Linked DNA regions of Homo sapiens: region 2 is linked to region 1. The links are contacts of gene promoters, found by promoter capture Hi-C in human tissues and cell types (Jung and others, 2019). All regions are on one chromosome and are shown on one strand. The core of a region is centred on a gene start or on the middle of the fragment in contact, and the rest is flanking DNA. Distances in the headings are between cores, read along the strand shown.

Region 1 (6,195 bases), core at 1,677-4,176:
ACCCCATCTCACCTGCAGGGAGGACTGGACCCTCGTCCCCCAACTCTCAGACCCCATCTCTCCTGCAGGGAGGACTGGACCCACTCTGTGACTCCCAGATCCCATCTCTCCTGCAGGGAAGATGGAACACTTGCCCCTCCCAGACCCCATCTCACCTGCAGGGAGGACTGAACACTCTCCTTGACTCCCAGACCCCATCTCACCTGCAGGGAGGACTAGACCCTCGTCCCCCAACTCTCAGACCCCATCTCTCCTGCAGGGAGGACTGGACCCACTCTGTGACTCCCAGACCCCATCTCTCCTGCAGGGAAGATGGAACACTTGCCCCTCCCAGACCCCATCTCACCTGCAGGGAGGACTGAACACTCGCCTTGACTCCCAGACCCCATCTCACCTGCAGAGAGGACTGAACACTCGCCTTGACTCTCAGACCCCATCTGTCCTGCAGAGAGGACTGAACACTCGCCTTGACTCCCAGACCCCATCTCACCTGCAGAGAGGACTGAACACTTGCCTTGACTCTCAGACCCCATCTCACCTGCAGAGAGGACTGAACACTCGCCTTGACTCTCAGACCCCATCTCTCCTGCAGAGAGGACTGAACACTTGCCTTGACTCCCAGACCCCATCTCACCTGCAGGGAGGACTAGACCCTCGTCCCCCAACTCTCAGACCCCATCTCACCTGCAGGGAGGACTGAACACTCACCTTGACTCTCAGACCCCATCCTCCCTGCCGCCTCCTCACCTGCTGGTGCTCAAGCTTGCAGTGCTCCTCCATGGTTTCCTTGGGGACAGGCTCCTCACACTCCGGACACAGGACCAGGAACCGCAGGCAGTAAGCCTCATGGAGGGTGAAGTTGGCAGAGACTACATGTCTTTTACTACAGGGTCAAGGTGTGGGGATAGAAAAATAGACTTATTTTCATATTATAAAACATGGAGCTGTATTTCATACCCAGGGCTAGATCTCCAGAGGCCTTAAGCACTGAACATGTGATGATGATGACACCACCTGCCCCACACTCCCTGTGTGGGTCCAAAAGTCAGAACAGTGAGGCAGCATCTAATAAGAATAAGGATGATCTACAGAGCTCTTACATTGCTGGGGCAGGGCATGGGAAGGAGCAGGAGGGAGGAATTACAAAGGGGCATGGGGAGCTTTTGGGGTGACAGGAAGCTTCATTATCTCAATTACGGGGATGGTGTTTCATGGATGTATATAACTTAGGCCAAAACTTATCAATTGCTACCCTTTAAAATGTGAGGTTTATTGTAGGTCAATTATACCTCTATAAGGCTGTTTTTAAAATGAAACATTTCATTTTAAATAATGTAAATAATTAAATTATTTCAATTTAAATAATTTGAGAGAAGTGCCAAATTCTCTTGAATCTTTTTTCTTGTTTTCTGGTGCCCCTGTTTGGTCCACAGTGTTAGGAACGCAGCCCTGCTAGGCTCACGCTTCCTGCCAGGGCCATGCCAACTTCCAAAATCTCCAAAGCGAGAGCTTCCCAAGTCTCCCCTGCCTTCAGGTTCACCTGCGCTAACTCACAGAGACTCCGAGGTTCTTCCTGGAGACCACAGTGAAGGAAGGGTTCTGAGCCTCCCACTTCCTGGGCAGGGCATTTTTCTCTAACCGTCCTTTTTGCCAAGAAGTGCCCCCTTTTGGCTGGGTGTGGTGGCTCATGCCTGTAATCCCAGCACTTTGGGAGGCCGAGGCGGGTGGATCACCTGAGGTCAGGAGTTAGAGATCAGCCTGGCCAACATGGTGAAACCTCATCTCTACTAAAACAATACAAAATTAGCCGGGCATGGCGGTGCACGCCTGTAATCCCAACTACTCGGGAGGCTGAGGCAGGAGAATCACTTGAACCCGAGAGATGAAGGTTGCAGTGAGCTGAAATCGCGCCATTGCACTCCAGGCACTCCAGCCTGGGCAAAAAGAAGCGAAACTCCATCTTAAAAAAAAAAAAAAAAGAAGAAGAAAGAAAGAAATGACTCCTTTCATTTCCATCAGCTCTTGCTTGTGGCAGCTTGGGAGAAGGGAAATGGGGTGGCTGTAGCCGTAAAGGCCCAGGGGACGAGAAGAGTTACATGCCCATGTTCCTGGCACAGGGGACGTGCTCCGAGAGGGACTGTCAAAGCCTCACTCCTCTTCTGCCCAGGCAGCGGGCACACAGGCAGCATCATCTTCCCTTCCTCTGCTCTCTCTCCTCTGCCTGACCTGGCCCCTTCTCCCCCTGCTCTTCCTGGGCTGGTTGAGAAACCAGAGTACTTGAAGGGTCTGGCTGGAGCAAAGCTCTCTGGGGAGGGTCCACTCAGGTCCCTGTCACAGGTAGGGAGCTTTGAGAATGGGGCTTTTTGATCGGTCAGATTCCGCGCCCCCCCTCCCGTTAGAGGTGTGGTCCCAGCCCCCTGCTCTGTCCCCCCTGCCCCGCCCCACGGCTCCCTTTCCAAGGAGGGTGAGAGTAGTCCTGGAGAATCTCCGTGGGACACTTTCTTTCACAGATGGGTGTGAAGGTCATAGTATCAGAACCCCAAATTAGGACCCAAGGTCTCACAAGTATGAGTAGCCCAGTTGGGACCACTGGCCGGGCTATTTGGCTTCAGAACTGTCCCAGAAAGCCTAACATTTGGGGGAAAGGGGCTGCAGTGAAGTGGAGGTAATGCTGCCCACCCCCACCCAGAGATTACCAAGTTTAAACCCTCCTACCCTTGGGGCCCACGGTCTCCAGCTGCTTGTCCTCCTAAGTGTTCTTATGCAGGAACCACTTTCTGCTCCCTTCAGAAACAGCCCTATGTCGTCTACGTCTCTCCCTCGCCAGCCCGGGTCTGCCGCTGGAGAAAGCACTTTCTTACCAGTTCCTGCACACCGAGAAGTCTCCTTCCATGTTCTGCTCTCTGCAGGCTTTCGGTTGAGTTTCGTTTCTTGCAGGCAAGGAAACAAAACTGAAAGTTTTCCGATGGCCCAGCCCACAGCTTCAGGGAGGGAGGAGATCTTCAGAATTCTCGGCTCAGGAGTTCCCCTTGATTCCTGAGGCTGGACCCTCCCAAGAAGCCCCTTTACAGCATGGCCAGCCCCTGCTGTCGCCCTTGGCCGTCATTCTTTGCTGCTGTCACAGCCGCATCTACCTCCCTGAGGCTGGCAGCCTGAGGCCAGGCCTCTCCTGGGCAGCACAGCAGCTTGTTCCCTCACCCTGGCTGGCTGGCTTCTCTCCGTCTGGGTCTCCATCCCTTTTCCAAACCATCCACCTCCCACCCTTCTCCCCCATCTCCGGCTCCCTTCTGGTCCTCCCCTGCAGGAAAGAGGGAACTTGCCATGTTGAGCTTGAATGCTGTTCCCTAAAAATGGCTCCTGGACTTCCAGGCGGTGAGGACCTTGCAAACAGCGTCCAGGGAGGCTCTGGGGATGCAGGGTGGTGTGAGCCCAGACCCAATCTGGTGTGTATCCTCCTGGGGGTCCTTAGAGTTTTTCCAGACCCTAGAAACAGCTGTGCTAACAGAAGAACTCTAAACAACATCTGGAGTGATGACAAGCAGGCCCAGAGAATTCCCGTGGCGTCTGCCAATGGGGTGGGTGCCGCCTCTCTGAGGAGGATAACAAGATTAAGGGAAATGTCCAGGCAGGGCTCCAGCCTCCAGGCAGGCTCTAAAATTCAGGCACTAAATGAGAAGCAGTGTGTGGTGGTACTGATGATCACAGTGATAGGAGGGAAGAATGAAAGACTGTTTCAACATTGTTCCTATGTTCCAGGCACCATTCTAAGCATTAGGTAGGCATTGTCTTCGTTTTAATCCCTCATGTAAGCATTATTAACTCCATTTTGCTATGGAAAACAGAGGCAGTGACAGAGTGAGACTCTGCCTCAAAAAAGAAAAATGAAATGAAAAAAGAGAAAATGGAGGCAGAGAGAGGCTAGGCCAATCGCTCAACATCAGAGCTGGGATTCACACCAGGTTGATATGACTCAGGTGTCTATGTACCTAACCAAGGCCCCATCCACCTCATTTGACAGCTAGTTGGGGTAGTGAGCACTTGGCTGAGAGTCAGAGACTGAGGTTTGCATCTTATCTTGTTCCCTTCCTCATCGGCTAGGCAAGCTCCTTAATCCTTCTGACCCTCACTACCCACTCCTGTCTGTCTCTGGGCAGTCTGTCAATATCAAGAATGAAAAACGAGTGGGCTTGGCTTGGTGGCTCATGCCTGTAATCCCAGCACTTTGGGAGGCCGAGGTGGGCGGATCACGAGGTCAGGAGTTCGAGACCAGCCCGACGAACATGGTGAAACCCCGTCTCTACTAAAAATACAAAAATTAGCTGGGTATGGTAGTGCTTGCCTATAATCCCAGCTACTCAGGAGGCTGAGGCAGGAGAATTGCTTGAACCCAGGAGGTGGAGGTTGCAGTGAGCCGAGATTGCACCACTGCACTCCAGCCTGGGCAACAGAACGAGACTCTGTCTCAAAAAAAAAAAAAAAAAAAAAGGGCTGTGCGCGGTGGCTCATGCCTGTAATCCCAGCCCTTTGAGAGGCCGAGGCGGGTTGATTATGAGGTCAGGAGATTGAGACCATCCTGGCCAACACAGTGAAACCCCGTCTCTGCTAAAAACTACAAAAAATTAGCCGGGCGAGGTGGCGGGTGCCTGTAGTCCCAGCTACTCGGGAGGCTAAGGCAGGAGAATGGCGTGAACCCAGGGTGGAGCCTGCAGTGAGCCGAGATCGCGCCACTGCACTCCAGCCTGGGCGACAGAGCGAGACTCTGTTACAAAAAAAAAAAAAAGAAAGAAAGACAGGAAGAAAGAAATGGAAAAGAAGGAAAAATGAAGAACTTTCTTTTCACATATTGTCTCCTGCTGAGATGGGATAGGGGTGGTGGCAGGGGTGTATAGATTGGACACCTTAGAGGAATGGAATGTGTGGCCAGGGGATAGGAGTGGAATTAGAAGTGACCATAAGTTGCTTCTCATCTACATCCTAATTTTCTTCCAAGATGTTTCCTCCTATAGACTGTCCCACCCACGCCAACCCTTCCCTTCCTCATCAAAATCCCAGCAGTTCTTCAGGACCAACTCCTATGCCAACACTGATCTAGAATCTACCTCCTTTGTCTCTGGCTTTGGTTAGTTGGCTGTGTGTCTATTGTCTCAACTCCTCCCCATCCAATCACAGGCATGGGCGATTTGAGAGCCAGCTCTTTCTGACCCACCACCCCTGCCTTCCTGGAGAGACCCGCGGGCTTTGTGCTTATTAGGCAGAGTGCAGTATTGAGCTTCGCAGTAGCAGGCAGTCAAATGCTGGCTGACCCGAATGGATGGGGTGTTTTGAGATAATTAAGCAGGGAGTTGGAAATCTCCCCCAACCCACACAACACCCCTGAGTCGGAGGGCTCTCAAAGTGGCAGCAATGGCCATTTTCTTTTCATTTCTCAAGATAACTTAGATTTCATAAAGAATATATGAATATACACTCTTTAAAAAAATGGAATGTTACAAATACAGCAATGTTTCTCTTTGACTGTCACGGCTGTTCCTGGGCCATCACTATTATTAATCAGAGAGTGTATGTAGGAACACTCTGGTTAGCACAAAAGCCTGTCCCCATTTCCACTACGACATCAATCGGTGCTGTGGGCTTGTATGATTTCATCATTCTGCCACCCGTCTTTGGCTGGTCGCCAACCCCAATCCCATTTAAAAAAAAAAAAACAAAAAACAGCTAGATGAGAAATGCTCTGTTGTGGGCTTAGAATTCCTTTCCAGGACACTGTGGCTACCCACTTGGCCGTTGTGGGGAGTTTCCGGCAGTCTCTTTGTGTCAGGCCTGTGGGTCAGGGGAGGGGGGTGAAGGTTGTCACAGGAAGCCAGTCTCTCAGACGTGAATTGGCCGGGCTGGCCATGTCACCTTTGCAGGAATCGGGGGGAAAGGGGAGCAGGAAGTCCTGGCTGGACTAGGACACAGGAATAATACACCCCTCCGTGCATTGTTTTGAAGATCAGAAGAGAAATTGTGTGAAAGCTGTACTTGTACAGCATGGAAGACAGGAAAGAATATTTAAAAAGGATTGTTTTAATAGTTTGGCTTTGAGAAGGGATCTTATTTAGGCTTTCTTCTTTTAAGGGATCACTATGCTAAGGAAGATGATGTAACGACAGAGATATTTCACTTCCCAGACAAAAATTATATGGTGCAATTGCA
Region 2 (6,195 bases), core at 1,193-3,692, 63 kb before region 1:
GCATGTGACACAACAATTAAATAAGTTTGACACCAGTGTGAAATTTCAGGACCCTAGGAAAATAGATTACTAAAATTTTTCAGAGTGGAAAAAACAGGTCATATACAAAGAATCAGGAATCAGAGTGGCATCAGACTTTTCAACAGAAACTCTGGAAATTAGAAGGAAATGGAGGGACACAATCACAATTCCAAATAAAAAAGAGTTACAAACTGTAACTCAGGGCACAGCCAAATAGAATGAAATGTCGAGGGTAGAATAAAGACATTTGCAGACTTGCAGGTTTTCAAAAACTTTACCTCACATGCATCCATTTCTTAGGAAGTTACTGAAGGATATGCTTCAGCATACTGAAAGAGTAAATCAAGGAAGAGGAAGAAATACAATCCAGGAAACGGGACAGCAACAGGAGAAGAGTGAAGGGGATTCCTGGAAGCAAAGTCATAGGATGACAGCTACACAGCAAACTAGAGAGCAACTCATCCAGCAGGAGGAGAAGATGCTCTAGGAGAGACATCTCCAAGGAGGAAAGAAAATTGATAGCTTACTTGATGGGTTGGAATATATTGAGGGCATATTGAGAAAAAATTAATAATATAAAGAAACTGAAGGAATCACTATGCTACCCATTTTACTATCTCATAATGTCATGTTGTAAACCTCAAATATATACAATAACATTTTTTTTTAAAACAGAGTCAGCTTACAGAAGTGGAAACTGACACTACAACCAGTACATTATGACTTTAAGATTCAAATGCTGAACTACTCATTATCAATTAAATATATATATATTTAATTGTTTTCCTAGTATAATCAGTCATTTTTTACTCATGGTGACTAATAAATCTGCCTTTAATTATCATTTAAAAAAGAAAGTGAAGCAAAAATGCCATTTTAACTCCTCCCCAAAACAGAAAATTTTGTAAGAAAAGAAATTTATTACAGTGTATGATAGGGCTCAGGTGTAAATAACATTTATATATTTACAAAATGTAAATAAATAGTAAGTTTACTTATTTATTGTTTAACAAAATGGTGATACAACTATATTGGGAGACGGAAGTATGTTGTGTGAGTTGGTTAAGAGCAAATCATTATCTTTCATCACAGGAAATCAACATATAATATCAAAACTGATAATGAGTGAATAGCAGTATAAGCAAATGTCAGAAGTGATAAGGGGCCTGGCGCAGTGGCTGACACCTGTAATCCCAGCACTTTGGGAGGCCGAGGCAGGCGGATCACGAGGTCAGGAGATCGAGACCATCCTGGCTAACATGGTGAAACCCAGTCTCTACTAAAAAATACAAAAAATTAGCCGGGTGTGGTGGCGGATGCCTGTAGTCACAGCTACTCGGGAGGTTGAGACAGGAGAATGGCATGAACCTGGGAGGCAGAGCTTGCAGTGAGCAGAGATTGCACCACTGCACTCCAGCCTGGGTGACACAGTGAGACTCCGTCTCAAATGGATGGGGACAGGTCAGAGAGTTTTAATTCTTTGTGATACTATTTGACTTTTCTAACAACACACATTTATATCTTTGATAAAATTAAAAGTTATTAAAAACAGTGGGCACTGAAGAACTAGTGGGTGTAGAATGATAAATCTGATGTGGACTGTAAGAAAATATATCTTCCTTCCTTCCTGCAAATAAACATTTAAAAAGATGAAAAGATGCCCCAAATAGCACAGCACTAAGAGGAAAAGAGCATGTCACAGGTGGTTTTACAACAGTCTTCAAGTTTCTAATTCAAATGTTGGCTACCTTGGGATAGATTAGCCCTGGTGTAACTTCCCCGTGTGCTTCAGAACAGAGACTCGAGGAAGTCCAGTTCTGGAAGAAGGAGTTAGATGACAAACTTGAGCAGCTTGTGAATGTAACTGATGATCTACTCATATATAAGATCAGATTGGAAAAAGCCCTGGAGACCTTGAAAGAGCCCTTGCACATCACTGAGACATGCCTGGCATACAGGTAGGAGCGAAGGTCCCTCAAATGATTCATGTGTTGTGACAAATGAGATGCTGGGTAGTAAATGCCGGCTGTGTGCGATGGTGAGTTAGAACACAGCACTTGAGCAGGTGTTCTTTTAGAGCCTGAAGTTATCCCAGCATGCCCCTGGTGCTGGGCAGTGCAAGGGGCACTGGACTTGGTTCATGCCTCAACTCTGCTCTTGACTAACTCAACTCAAATATGTTAGGACTAGGTTTGGCTGTGGGTAGCAGAAAACTTTAAAATAATATTGAATTTAAAGAAAACGATTTCTTTCTCTCTTACATTCAAAGAGTCTAGAGATAGTCAGTCCAGGGTTGGAATGGTGGGCCACAGTTTTAGGGTTCCAGGCTTTTTCTATCTTCTTGTTCTACTGCACATGGCTTTCACTCCTAATGTTACCTTGTGGTTTAAGTTGGCAGCTGGAGCTCCAGCCATTATGTCTACATTCCAGCAAGTAGGAGTAAGTGGGGTCTGGCATTCATCATTTCTATTTGCATCCTATTGACAGAACTTAATCACATGGCCACACCAACAGATGCTGGGAAATGATTGGTTTTACTTTGGGCAGCCAGGTGCTCAGCCAAAAAACCAGGGGTTCTGTTGCCAAGGAAGAAGGTGAGAACAGACACTACAGCTCCCAGGGGACAGTATGTCTCTCCCATGCAGAGCCACACGGAAGCACTTTGTAATCCAGACAGCACTATAGGAACATAGTGCTTTTTATTATTATTTCCCTCCTATAAATCCAGTGAATAGAATGATCCTTTCTACTCTGGGGTGATGCTGGTTTCCAGACCTGGGTTCTGCCGCAGACCTAGCTGGAGTGCCCTAACAGGTCTTCTTGCTGTTAGCATAGTCCCCTATAATCTAGTGCACCCTGCACACTGGCTGTTGAGTGAACTTTTCCAAATGCAGATTTTTCCCGGTCACCGCCATGCTTAGAATCCTTCAAACCCCAATGGCTTCAAGATAAATTTTAAGCTTCTTAGCTTAGCAAACCAAGGTTCATCATGATAGGGCCCCCAGTGACCTCTCTGGATCCATATCTTGTCCCCAGTAGTGGGATGTGCTTAGGTGTGTGGAGCTACTTGCAGTTTCTCAAATGCACCATGCCCCTGTCTTCCTGGAAAGCCCTGTTCCTTCCATAAGCTTAAACAGGACCCGTTGCAGGAACCAGGCAGCAGTCTCCCCAGCCAGATTTAGAAATCTATGAAGCAAAGAGAAATAGCAGCTCATCAAAGAGCTCAACACCCAGTTGGCTCAAGTCTAAGCCTGAGGATAATGATAACGTAGAGGCTGCTAAGTTTACTGAGCATGTACTATGTGCCAGGTACTGTAGCTTATGCTTTTATAGCTCATTTGTAGTGTGCCACAATCCTATGAAGTACTAATAATTACCCCCATTTTACAGAAAAGGAAACCAAGGCACAGGTAGGTTATATAGTGGCTAAGGGCACCCAGCTAGTGAGTAGGGGAACCTCCTTTCCAAGCACTATCATGCAGGTTGAAAAAGAGCAAAACGTTGTGTAGCAGGGTCAGTTTGGGAGGAGGATGGCATCTTGGCTAGAAGCACATGTGGCACACAGTTCTGTGACACTGGGTAGATCACTTAGTCTCTCTGAAACTCAGTTTCCCCATCTGTACTTGAAAGGGCTAAGAAAGAATGTTTATATATTAATAAAGCTCAGCACAATGCCTGTCATGGAGTAAGTGCTCACTGGCAGAGGCAATATTACTATTGGTGTTATTATTATTAATAGTTATTATTACTATAAACATCTTTTAAAATTTTTTTTGAGATGGAGTTTCGCTCTTGTTGCCCAGGCTGGAGTGGAATGGTGCAATCTCGGCCCACCGAAACCTCCACCTCCCGGGTTCAAATGATTCTCCTGCCTCAGCCTCCTGAGTAGCTAGGATTACAGGCATGCACCACCACTCTTGGCTAATTTTGTGTTTTTAGTAGAGACGGGGTTTCTCCATGTTGGCCAGGCTGGTCTCCAACTCCCGACCTCAGGCGATCCACCTGCCTCAGCCTCCCAAAATGCTGGGATTACAGGCGTGAGTCACTGCGCCCACCCTAAAACATCTTTCTATGTTCAATTGTTTGTCTAAACACTGAATGAGGATCAAGGAAGGAAACAAGTCTTTGAATTTATTATTATTATTTAAAACTTTCCTCTTCTTGGGAAAAAAAGTCCATCTGGCTGCAAATCAAAACCACAATGAGATACCATCTCATGCTAGTTAGAATGGCAACCATTAAAAAGTCAGGAAACAACAGATGCTGGAGAGGATGTGGAGAAATAGGAATGCTTTTACACTGTTGGTGGGAGGGTAAATTAGTGCAACCATTGTGGAAGACAGTGTGGTGATTCCTCAAGGATCTAGAACTAGAATTACCATTTGACCCAGCAATCCCATTACTGGGTATATACCCAAAGGATTATAAATCATGCTACTATAAAGACATATGCACACGTTTGTTTATTGTGGCACTATTCACAATAGCAAAGACTTGGAACCAACCCAAATGTCCATCAGTAATAGACTAGATTAAGAAAATGTGGCACATATACACCATGGAATACTATGCAGCCATAAAAAAGGAAGAGTTCATGTCCTTTGCAGGGACATGGATGCAGCTGGAGACCATCATTCTGCGCAAACTATCACAAGGACAGAAAACCAAACACTGCATGTTCTCACTCATAGGTGGGAATTGAACAATGAGAACACTTAGACAAAGGGCAGGGAACATCACACACCGGGGCCTGTCAGGGTGTGGGGGGCTGGGGGAGGGATAGCATTAGGAGAAATACATAATATAAATGATGAGTTGATGGGTGCAGCAAACCAATGTGGCACATGTATACCTATGTATCAAACCTGCACGTTGTGCACATGTACCCTAGAACTTAAAGTATAATTTAAAAAAAATACAAAGAAAAGAAAAAGAGAGAGAGAAAAAAAAGTCCATTTGGCATGTTTCAGACCAAGTGACCAGTCATCAATCAATTTTTCTTCATTGTGTTTGGATATTTTGAAGTCACATAGACACCAACTAATATCTGTCACCCACTGTGTCATCGGATGGATCGGGTGACACTCAAATCAGTCGTGCAGATAGTTCTGAGTGTGCAGCCATTAGCCAATGTTGAGTCACCTCATGTTGCACGTGTTGGCTGACTGGCTGCCTTTCCCCCTGCCAGGGAGAAGCGCATTGGCATTGACCTGGTGCACGACACAGTGGAGCATGAGCTGATAAAGGAGGCTGAGATCATCCAGGGCATTATGGCTCTGCTGACCCGTACCTTGGAGGAGGCTTCCGAGCAGATTCGGTATGACTCTTCGGCCTGCCCTCCAAATCTCCACTGGGAATTTTGAGAAAAGGCAGTGTCCACAAAAGCTGGGCTCCATGGCACAGAAAGAAAGGGGTTCAACATTCCCGCTCCCACTTTGTGTCCCCAGATTGCCCCAGCACTCAGGGTAAGAGCTGGCCACATCCCTCATACATGGCAGCCGCCCTCTGGTAAGGGTGGGGCTGGAGCTGGATTTCACCCTGGTTATAAACTGGAGGACGCTGGAACCCACTGGTGAGGCTGACCCCTCACACATAGTAGGCTGCAATGGTGACACTGGAAAATGTAACAGTAGAAGGGAGAATCTCCAAGTCCACATTTGGTTACGTTGATTTGTCACCGGGCATCAAATGGTATACGCATGAGTGTTGGGGTGATGGGTGGGGGGCAGTACCATCATCCTGCACCAGACCTAGCTGCAGCTTCACTTTCCAGGACCTCTCTGAGGACGTGGGTGCCACCTGGGCACTCCAGAGGCAGAAACCCAGTTTACTTTCTCCCTTCAGGATGAACCGCTCTGCCAAGTACAATCTTGAGAAGGATTTGAAGGACAAGTTTGTGGCCCTGACCATAGATGATATCTGCTTCTCGCTCAACAACAACTCACCAAACATCAGATATTCTGAGAACGCCGTGAGGATTGAGCCAAAGTGAGTGGGCCTTGCCGTCTTCCTCCTCGCGGGTGACCCAGTGCTTCTCAGATAGGCAAGACCTAGCGGCTCGTCCTTGCAGCTGGCTGAGAGCTTGGAAGTGGTGGGCTTGGGGCAAAGGCAGCATTGAATGGTGACCTTGACATTGGGCCCAGAGGCTCCTGATTCTCCAGGTTAGGCTCACTA

Evidence for each region. The method cuts DNA at HindIII sites, captures the fragments that hold promoters and counts their contacts. A contact is called where the count stands out against the background at its distance.
Region 2: a contact is called between a fragment that was not itself captured here and the fragment with the promoter of XAF1 in region 1, in 1 of the 25 tissues and cell types used here (bladder).

What each region holds. Positions count from the first base shown.
Region 1 is chr17:6,752,777-6,758,971 of GRCh38, reverse strand. XAF1 (XIAP associated factor 1) reads right to left here and starts at 2,926. Exons shown (of 7, transcript NM_017523.5): 1 at 2,862-2,926; 2 at 748-883. The coding sequence starts at 2,893. RefSeq lists an enhancer at 2,750-3,269. The HindIII fragment of the contact is 6,790 bases long and covers 972-6,195 here.
Region 2 is chr17:6,814,977-6,821,171 of GRCh38, reverse strand. It overlaps TEKT1 (tektin 1), which reads left to right. Exons shown (of 8, transcript NM_053285.2): 3 at 1,814-1,979; 4 at 5,210-5,338; 5 at 5,866-6,009. Among named protein-coding and RNA genes, the nearest start is that of TEKT1, 14 kb to the left of the region's middle. The HindIII fragment of the contact is 6,754 bases long and covers 1-5,819 here.